Linked DNA regions of Homo sapiens: region 1 is linked to region 2. The links are contacts of gene promoters, found by promoter capture Hi-C in blood cells and fetal thymus (Javierre and others, 2016). All regions are on one chromosome and are shown on one strand. Each heading gives the region's core, a stretch centred on a gene start or on the middle of the fragment in contact. The rest is flanking DNA. Distances are from core to core; before and after follow the strand shown.

What was found. Contacts are between HindIII fragments. The CHiCAGO score rates a contact against its expected background, and 5 or more counts as called.
Region 1: a contact is called between a fragment that was not itself captured here and the fragment with the promoter of C12orf50 in region 2, in 1 of 17 cell types (naive CD4 T cells). The highest score is 5.0, in naive CD4 T cells.

The regions. Positions count from the first base shown.
Region 1 is chr12:88,115,340-88,118,281 of GRCh38, forward strand. CEP290 (centrosomal protein 290) reads right to left here. Exons shown (of 54, transcript NM_025114.4): 18 at 1,694-1,806. Among named protein-coding and RNA genes, the nearest start is that of CEP290, 25 kb to the right of the region's middle. The HindIII fragment of the contact is 1,412 bases long and covers 545-1,956 here.
Region 2 is chr12:88,028,088-88,033,871 of GRCh38, forward strand. It overlaps C12orf50 (chromosome 12 open reading frame 50), which reads right to left and starts at 1,314. Exons shown (of 13, transcript NM_152589.3): 1 at 1,253-1,314. LOC107984542 (a long non-coding RNA gene) reads right to left here. Exons shown (of 3, transcript XR_007063395.1): 2 at 5,624-5,784; 3 at 5,006-5,181. The HindIII fragment of the contact is 7,634 bases long and covers 1-5,784 here.

The DNA of each region.
Region 1 (2,942 bases), core at 1-2,500, 87 kb after region 2:
ATCTAAACAGTAAAGCAGATGGTGATCTTAATCCCACTTTCTCCCTCTCCCAACATCCATGGTAAGAGGCAAAAAGATATAACGGTTTTTGTCTTTAGTACCACAATCATCTCTTTTAATGTTCTGCCTTTACACTACCTGTTCTGCCTGGCTTCTGTGATGTTCAAGCTCTATATCTGCATTTCTACACTCTGCTTCTTTGATCAAGAATTCCTGTGCTATGATTTCATTCTAAAGAAAAATTTAATAAATTAGACAAGTCAATGAGTTCATATCAATGTACTGCATTTTAGATTTTAAAAAGTACAATGTGTATAACTGATGTTAAAGTGCAAACAAAAATATTCTAACTATAATTGTTACAGAACTTTGTTAGAGACGTCATAAAAGAACAACCACAGAAATATAATTTGGAGAAAAACTCACCTGAGATCTAAGAAATACTAGCTCTCTCCGTAACTGTTCTATAAGATTTTCAAGAGAATTTATCTGAGATAATTTTGATTGTGCAGTAATAGACACAGGGTCTGGAAGATTAACCTTAAGCTTATTTTTCAATATCTCTGTCTGTAAGGGTACTTCACTTTTTATTATATCTTCTTTCAAATTGATATCAGCATACTTTACTTGGGAATGAACCTGTTCTTCTTCTAATGTTGCTACTTGTGATTTATCCATGTCAGCTCTATTTTCATGAATTTGTTGACAAAATATTGCAGATTTTTGCCTAAGTGATAACTTCTGCATTATGTCTGAAGCTGTTGATAAGCCATGAAAAGATGAATTGCTTTTTTGTACAAAACTAGTCTTCTCTAGTGCTTGATGGCTTCTTGACACCTTCTTCATACAGTCATCAGAAAAAAGGCATATGTCATTTATTTCTTCATGGCTTTCCCTACTAAAGGTGCTGACTAACGATTCTAGATTTCTTGAAGACTGCAGACATGGTGCTTTAAAAATCTCTCTTATTGTAATAGTTTCTGGAGTTGAATTCTCTTTAACTTGCATGGATGAAGAAAGTCTAGTTAAAGGGACAAAAGGATGCATTCCACTTTCTACACTATGGTGAATTTCAGATAACATTCTTGATAATGATCCTATGGTCATATTCTCTTCTGTCTCATTCTGATCTGACTGTGGGGTATTGAATGATGATCTCCTATGCAGCAGCTCTGCTTTATCTGAACTCCTAATCTGTATTCAGAGTAAATAATGTCTCATTAATCAATCTTTGAATCAACAGGTTAAATAAGCAAATATTTCCCTCTACTTATTTAACAACAATAATAAGATTAGATGTTCAAGAATGAGATAAAGGGGGAAGAAATGAAAACACAATAAAAATATTTTCCTGGCCGGGCGCGGTGGCTCACGCCTGTAATCCCAGCACTTTGGGAGGCCGAGGCGGGCGGATCACGAGGTCAGAAGATCGAGACCATCCCGGCTAAAACGGTGAAACCCCGTCTCTACTAAAAATACAAAAAATTAGCCGGGCGTGGTGGCGGGCGCCTGTAGTCCCAGCTACTTGGGAGGCTGAGGCAGGAGAATGGCATGAACCCGGGAGGCGGAGCTTGCAGTGAGCCGAGATCGCGCCACTGCACTCCAGCCTGGGAGACAGAGCGAGACTCCGTCTCAAAAAAAAAAAAAAAAAAAAATATTTTCCTTTACTCTCTTTGCAATACTTTACTATTACCTTTGATTGTGCTTCACTCATATTTTTGAGGCTCAATAAATCCAATTTTCTTTCACTTATTCTATCTCCTTGAGAAATGTTTTCAGTTAGGTTCAGGTCCTCAGTGGTTAATCCTATATATAAGAGAATTAACAAACTAAAAACATTAAAATAACCCTCCTACTATTCCAACACTTTAATTCTTAAAACCTACAATCAAGTTTTAATGCAAAGGTAGAATAATTGTTTCCAAAATCCCTCCAAAATTCTACATAGCCAATACAAGCTTCTCATTTAGCTCACTTTTAATGAACTATTAATAATGTGAGAACCTAATTTTTGAATTTCATCTTCTCTACCATTCTTTGCCTATTCTATATTAAAGTGCTACTTAATAAGCACCAGTTAAAAGACATATAAAGTAAATATAAATGATGAGTAATGAGTAAACTGATTATTGTACTAATAAATCATGAAGTTTTTTCTTGAGAAAGTTTTGGATGTATTATAGAAATCATAATGCTAAAAAGAACCACTCTGCTATTACTCATATACGTGCTTGGGGATTTGGGGCAAGTGAAAAAGACAGTCCTTCTGTGTGGTCTTCTTACAAAAAAGCACTGCAATGGCTATTATAAAACTTAACCAACTGTTCTCTTTAGCTCAAGTAAAATAAACCCAAGAAAGATGTTAATTTATATTCAATAAAACATTACTTTCACTTAGAAAAGAATAATTTAAGGCCAGGCATGGTGGCTCACGCCTATAATTCCAGCACTTTGGGGAGCCAAAGTGGATGGATCACTTGAGGTCAGGAGTTCAAGACCAGCCTGGGCCAACATGGTGAAACCCTGTTTCTACTAAAAATACAAAAATAAGTCAGGCGTGGTGGCTCACGCCTGTAGTCTCAACTACTCAGGAGGCTGAAGCACAAGAATCACTAGAACCCGGGAGGCGGAGGTTGCAATGAGCAAGATCGCACCAGTGCACTCCAGCCTGGGCAATAGAACAAGACAGACTCCATCTCAAATATTAATAATAATAATAATAATAATAACTTACAAGAAAAGCTTTTCAATGCATAGTCCTTAAGGAAAGGGAAAATGTTGAGTAACATATATTAACATAAAAACTACTAAGTTTTATTATTATTAATAACAACATATTGGTGCTGTCTAGAAATTAAAATACTATACTATAAAACTTTTCAAAAATTCCATAATTCTAAGGTTTTTTTCTTTTTTGTTTGCTTGGTTTTTGTTATTTTGTT
Region 2 (5,784 bases), core at 64-2,563:
AGCTGTAAAAATGATGTGATATAAGGTATTGTGAGCTATTATTATTATTTATTCATTTAATTATTTACTGGTAACTTACTCATTAGCCACTCTGCTAAGTACTTGGGGATACAGCAGTGAAATAGACAAAACACTCTGCCCACCTGGGACATGAAATCTGTTATTATTCTTTATTATCCTAGCATTTAATCTAACAGGTAATAGAAGTGAATCCAATTTCTGTGGTCAGAGAGGTTGACTCCATTCAGGTTTCCTAACAGAGAGGAAACACTTGAAACCAGACATATCATCTTTTTCACTGGATTATTTCTTGCATGAGCACAAAGCTCCAAATATTGAGTTTCTACCTTTATCTGGTTTTACTAAGATCTATACATCCTAATACATTGGAGGAATTCTCAGTTTTTCCCATTTAACTTTATAAAGTTTAATTTATATGTGGCCAATTTGTTTATATTAATTTTCTTTTTTAATGATATTTAAATATTTGTTATTACTTAGACTTTTGACAGAGGAAAATTCAGTAATTGGGTTAATAAATTTCAAATAGGAAAACAGATTTATTACACTAAGATTGACACTTACCTGAATTCAACTATTTGAATTATAATGACTGGAATCATATTAACTAAAACAATATCTTGTAACCTATGATGTTTTAATATTAGGAATTTAATGTCTCAAGGTGTCATAATATAGGCAAAAGTGCCACATGAAGATTCAAAAGCTATAGACATATAACTGGTATATATAAGGGTAGTTTCAAACAAATAATAATTTTAAATTATCTCAGATTTCTTCAGAGAAATTCAGTATGTCAAAAATACATGATAAGCTGTTACTCCAGATTTTACAAATATAAGATATCTTGCAAGAAAATAGTAAATTTTTGTTCAGCAATACAAGTTATTGCCATATCTCCCTTCATTCTACTAAAAAGATTAAGCATGTGAAGTACTGTCAATTGTACAATATTTACCTTTATGCATGTGGAATTAAAAAAGAAATAGCAGTCATTCCCAACTTCTGCCATTTTCAACTCTCTTGCTGCTAATCCAATGGTTTTTTTTTTTTGAAAAATATATATGAATTTCAGGAATGCAAATACAAGAACTATCAGTGTGTAAGGGGGAAAAATAATTTCTTTTCCACAGTCTTTCAGGCTATCAGTAGTATTCCTTTAAAACTGACCTCCTGTTGACAGTATATTACGCAATAGATAATTCTTAAAGACATTTAAATTAGAAGATACCTTCTCTAGCTTTGCAGAAACGCTGAAAGTGGTTGCTAGTAAGCACACAAACTCAAACTTCTAGAATTTTCCTCATTGTTACCTAATCCATTGTTTGCTCATCATAAATGACCTCACATGTAACTGCAGGCCAATGTTCACTCAGGTAAACTACAGTTTACCTGAGTGAACACTGTATTTCCCTTACTCAGTTTTAGCATATTAACTACAAAGGACTAGCAAAAATAAAATAGCATACTTTAATCTTTCAATGTTCTCGTTGAATATGGACTATAAACTAGTTTATACTTTTATAATAGAAAGTGATAAGTATTTCACAAGTAAACAGCTATTTCTAAATCTTCGTTTCTATAGAGGTTTTGGGAATAACACTAAAAATTTGCCATAGGTAAATGAGCTACTCATATTCTAAGATAATAAAAACAATTATTTAAATATGTACTCTCTACTATCCATTGATTTGGGAAAAATCATATTCAAATTGTGATATATTAATAGGTACCTGAAAATATATTGGGCTACTTATTCATCTTGTGGCTATATTCCATTTATTTTTCATCCATCATAAAAAGAGGAATATCTTCTTCCTATAGCAGAAAGTTTCCAGAGTGCTTGAAGGCTTTGAGAATTTGTTGAAAACAAGGGAAATACTCTGATTTCCAGAATGAAACATTTCAATCAGCAGTTATTTATATCTTCCTCTTAGTATCTTTAATCAAATAATTAAAACCCAGCAGAAATTAATAAAAAATATTCCTCATAAATGTATTAGTCCGTTTTCATGCTGCTGATAAAAGCATACCCAACTGGGAAGAAAAAGAGGTTTAATTGGACTTACAGTTCCACATGGCTGGGGAGGCCTCAGAATCATGGCAGGAGGTGAAAGGCACTTCTTACACTGCGGTGGCAAGAGAAAATGAGGAGAAAGTAAAGGTAGAATCCCCTGATAAACTGATCAGATCTTATGAGACTTATTCACTATCATGAGATTAGCATGGGAAAAACCCGTACCCATGATTCAATTACCTCCCCCTGAATCCCTCCCACAACATGTGGGAATTCTGGGAGATACAATTCAAGTTGATATTTGGGTGGAGACAGAGCCAAACCATATCATTCCACCACTTGTCCCTCCAAACTTCATGTCCTCACATTTCAAAACCAATCATGCCTTTCCAATAGTCCCCCAAAGTCTTAACTCATTTCAGTATTAATCCAAAAGTCCACAGTCCAGTGTCTCATCTGAGACAAGGCAAATCCCTTCCACCTATGAGTCTGTAAAATCAAAAACAAGCTAGTTACTTCCTAGATACAATGGGGATACTGGTATTGGGCAAAGCCACTGCAAGTGGGATAAGTTGGCCAAAACAAAGGAGTTACAGGACCCCTGCATGTCCTAATTCCAGCAGGGCAGTCAAATTTTAAAGCTCCAAAATGATGTCCTTTGACTCCAGGTCTCACATCCAGGTCATGTGGATGCAAAAGGTGGGTTCCCATGGTCTTGGGCACTCTGACCCTGTGGCTTTGCAGGGTACAGCCTCCCTCCTGGCTGCTTTCACAGGCTGGCATTAAGTGTCTGTGGCTTTTCCAGGTGCATGGCACAAGCTGTCAGTGGAGCTACCATTCTGGGGTTTGGAGGATGGTGGCTCTCTTCTAAAAGCTCCACTAGGCAGTGCCCCAGGAGGGACTCTGTGTGGGGGCTCCAGCCCACATTTCCCTTCCACACTGCCCTAGCAGGGGTTCTCCATGAGGTCCTTACTTCTGCAGCAAACTTTTACCTAAGCATCCAGGTGTTTCCATACATCTTCTGAAATCTAAGTGGAGGTTTCCAAACCTCAATTCTTGCCTTCTGTGCTCCTGCAGGCTCAACAGCAATGTGGAAGCTGCCAAGGCTTGGGGCCTGCACCCTCTGAAGCCACAGCTCGAGCTCTATGTTGGCCCCTTTCAGTCATGGCTAGATTGGCTGAGACACAGGGCACCAAGTCCCTAGGCTACAGATGGCACGGGGACCCTGGGCCTAGCCCATAAAACCACTTTTTCCTCCTGGGCCTCTGGGCCTGTGATGGGAGGGGCTGCCGTGAAGGTCTCTGACATACCCTGGAGACATTTTCCCCATGGTCTTGGGGATCAACATTAGGCTCCTTGCTACTTATACAAATTTCTGCAGCTGGCTTGAATTTCTCCTCAAAAAATGGGTTTTTCTTTTCTACTGCATCATCAGGCTGCAAATTTCTAAACTTTCATGCTCTGTTTCCCTTTTAAAATGGAATGCTTTTAACAGCACCCAAGTCACCTTTTGAATGCTTTGCTAAGCATTCAATCTTCCAGATTCAGCAATACCAGATACCTGAAATCATCTCTCAGGTACTTTGTTCAAAGTTCCACAAATCTCTAGGGCAGGGGCAAAATGCTGCCAGTCTCTTTGCTAAAATATAACGAGAATCACCTTTGCTCCAGTTCCCAACAAGTTCCTCATCTCTGTCTGAGACCACCTCAGCCTGGACCTTATTGTTCATATCACTATCAGCATTTTTGTCAAAGCCATTCAACAAGTCTCTAGGAGGTTCAAACTTTCTCACATTTTCCTGTCTCTTCTGAGCCCTCCAAACTGTTCCAACCTCTGCCTGTTACCCAGTTCTGAAGTCACTTCCACATTTTTGGGTATCTTTTCAGCAACACCCCACTCTACTAGTACCAATTTACTGTATTAGTCTGCTTTCACACTGCTGATAAAGACTGGGAAGAAAAAGAGGTTTAATTGGACTTACAGTTCCACATGGCTAGAGAGGCCTCAGAATCATGGTGGGAGGTAAAAGGCACTTCTTACATGGTGGCAGCAAGATAAAATGAGGAGGAAGCAGAAGTGGAAACCCCTGAGAAAACTATCAGATCTTGTGAGACTTATTCACTACCATGAGATTAGCATGGGAAAGACCCACCCCCATGATTCAATTACTTCCCCTGGGTCCCTCCCACAACACATAGGAATTCTGGTGGATATGATTCAAGTTGAGATTTGGGTGGGGACACAGCCAAGTCATATCAATAAATAACATAAAAGGTGCCATGAAAATCACACATTACTCTAGATAAAAACGTATTTTTAAATTGTCATGTATGTTTAATTAGAAATGTAAAAGACTAAGACAAATATGAATTCCCACTTCGGTTATGTAAAACAAGCTAAGCTGCTGGGAACTTTTGGAAGACAATGTTTTAGGATAAAAATCTGATATGTAAAATAAAATAAAATATAGAAAAAAGTTTTTAAATGTAAATTGAACATAATTAAAAAAACGAGGTAGTGTGAGAGGTAAATGAAGTAGAGAATAAAGATTTGGCTAAACCCTTGAAAATACTGGCAAAGATACATAGAAAAATATAACTACATTTTGTTTTGCCCTATCTTCTAACTCTAGAACAAAGCACCCATGAAGTAAGCACTTAAGCTACTGGGAGAAACATCCCTAAGAAATATTTTAAGTGTGTTTTGCCTCCAGATAAACACTGTCTACACCTGCGAACTTGTAGCTTCATTGGACTGTTTTCAAATATTCTTACCAAACACTATTATTGCATGTTACATGTAACATCATGATTAAAGTCATTGTGAGAATTCCTGTTTTACAAAGGAGAAAGTCTGAAAAAAAGTGTTTACTTCTTGAAGTTAGGTGCAAACAGCTACATTCCAGTAGACACAGCAAAAACAGGTCAAACTCACATGGGATTTTTTTTTTTTTTTTTTTTTTTTTTTGTCATTGCAGAGCACATAAAATAGATCTGTACATTTTGGTAGTGTTTAGAATGCCTGGAGTCTTACCTTCTCTACCTTTTTAAACTCTCTTTTCTTTTCCTTCTCCCTCAGCCCCTTTTTTCTTTTCCTTATTCTCTTCAGTTCTATTCTTTACTGTTGTGAATTTCATTCTGGTCTTAAAAAAAAAAAAAGCTGTTACGGCCAGGCGTGGTGGCTCACACCTGTAATCCTAGCACTTTGGGAGGCAGAGGTGGGCAGATCATGAGGTCAGGGGTTCAAGACCAGCCTGACCAACATGATGAAACACTGTCTCTACTAAAAAAAATACAAAACCTAGCTGGGCGTGGTGGCACACGCCTGTAATCCCAGCTACTCAGGAGACTGAGGCGGGAGAATCGCTTGAACCCAAGCCGTGGAGATTGCAGTGAGCCAAGATTGAGCCACTGCACTCCAGCTTGGGTGATAGAGCGAGACTCCATCTAAAAAAAAAAAAAAGCTATTACAGCCCTATGAGGATGATTACTCCTGTAATGAAGAATGATGGGAAATTTGTCTCCAGGGCTGGAAGTAGGCCTGAAAATTCTGTAAGTACTTTGTGTTGGCCAAAGCAGGCTCACATTGTGTGTCTTTCATCTTTGATGCTTACTAGAGCACTAACATATTAGTCAGAGAAGAAAGACTTTCTTCTATTTTGTAATCCTGTGACACCACTTTAAGTACAGTGGCTGGTAGCAACTCCTTGGTGACCCTTCAGAATTATGAGAATCGGGCAAAGTTG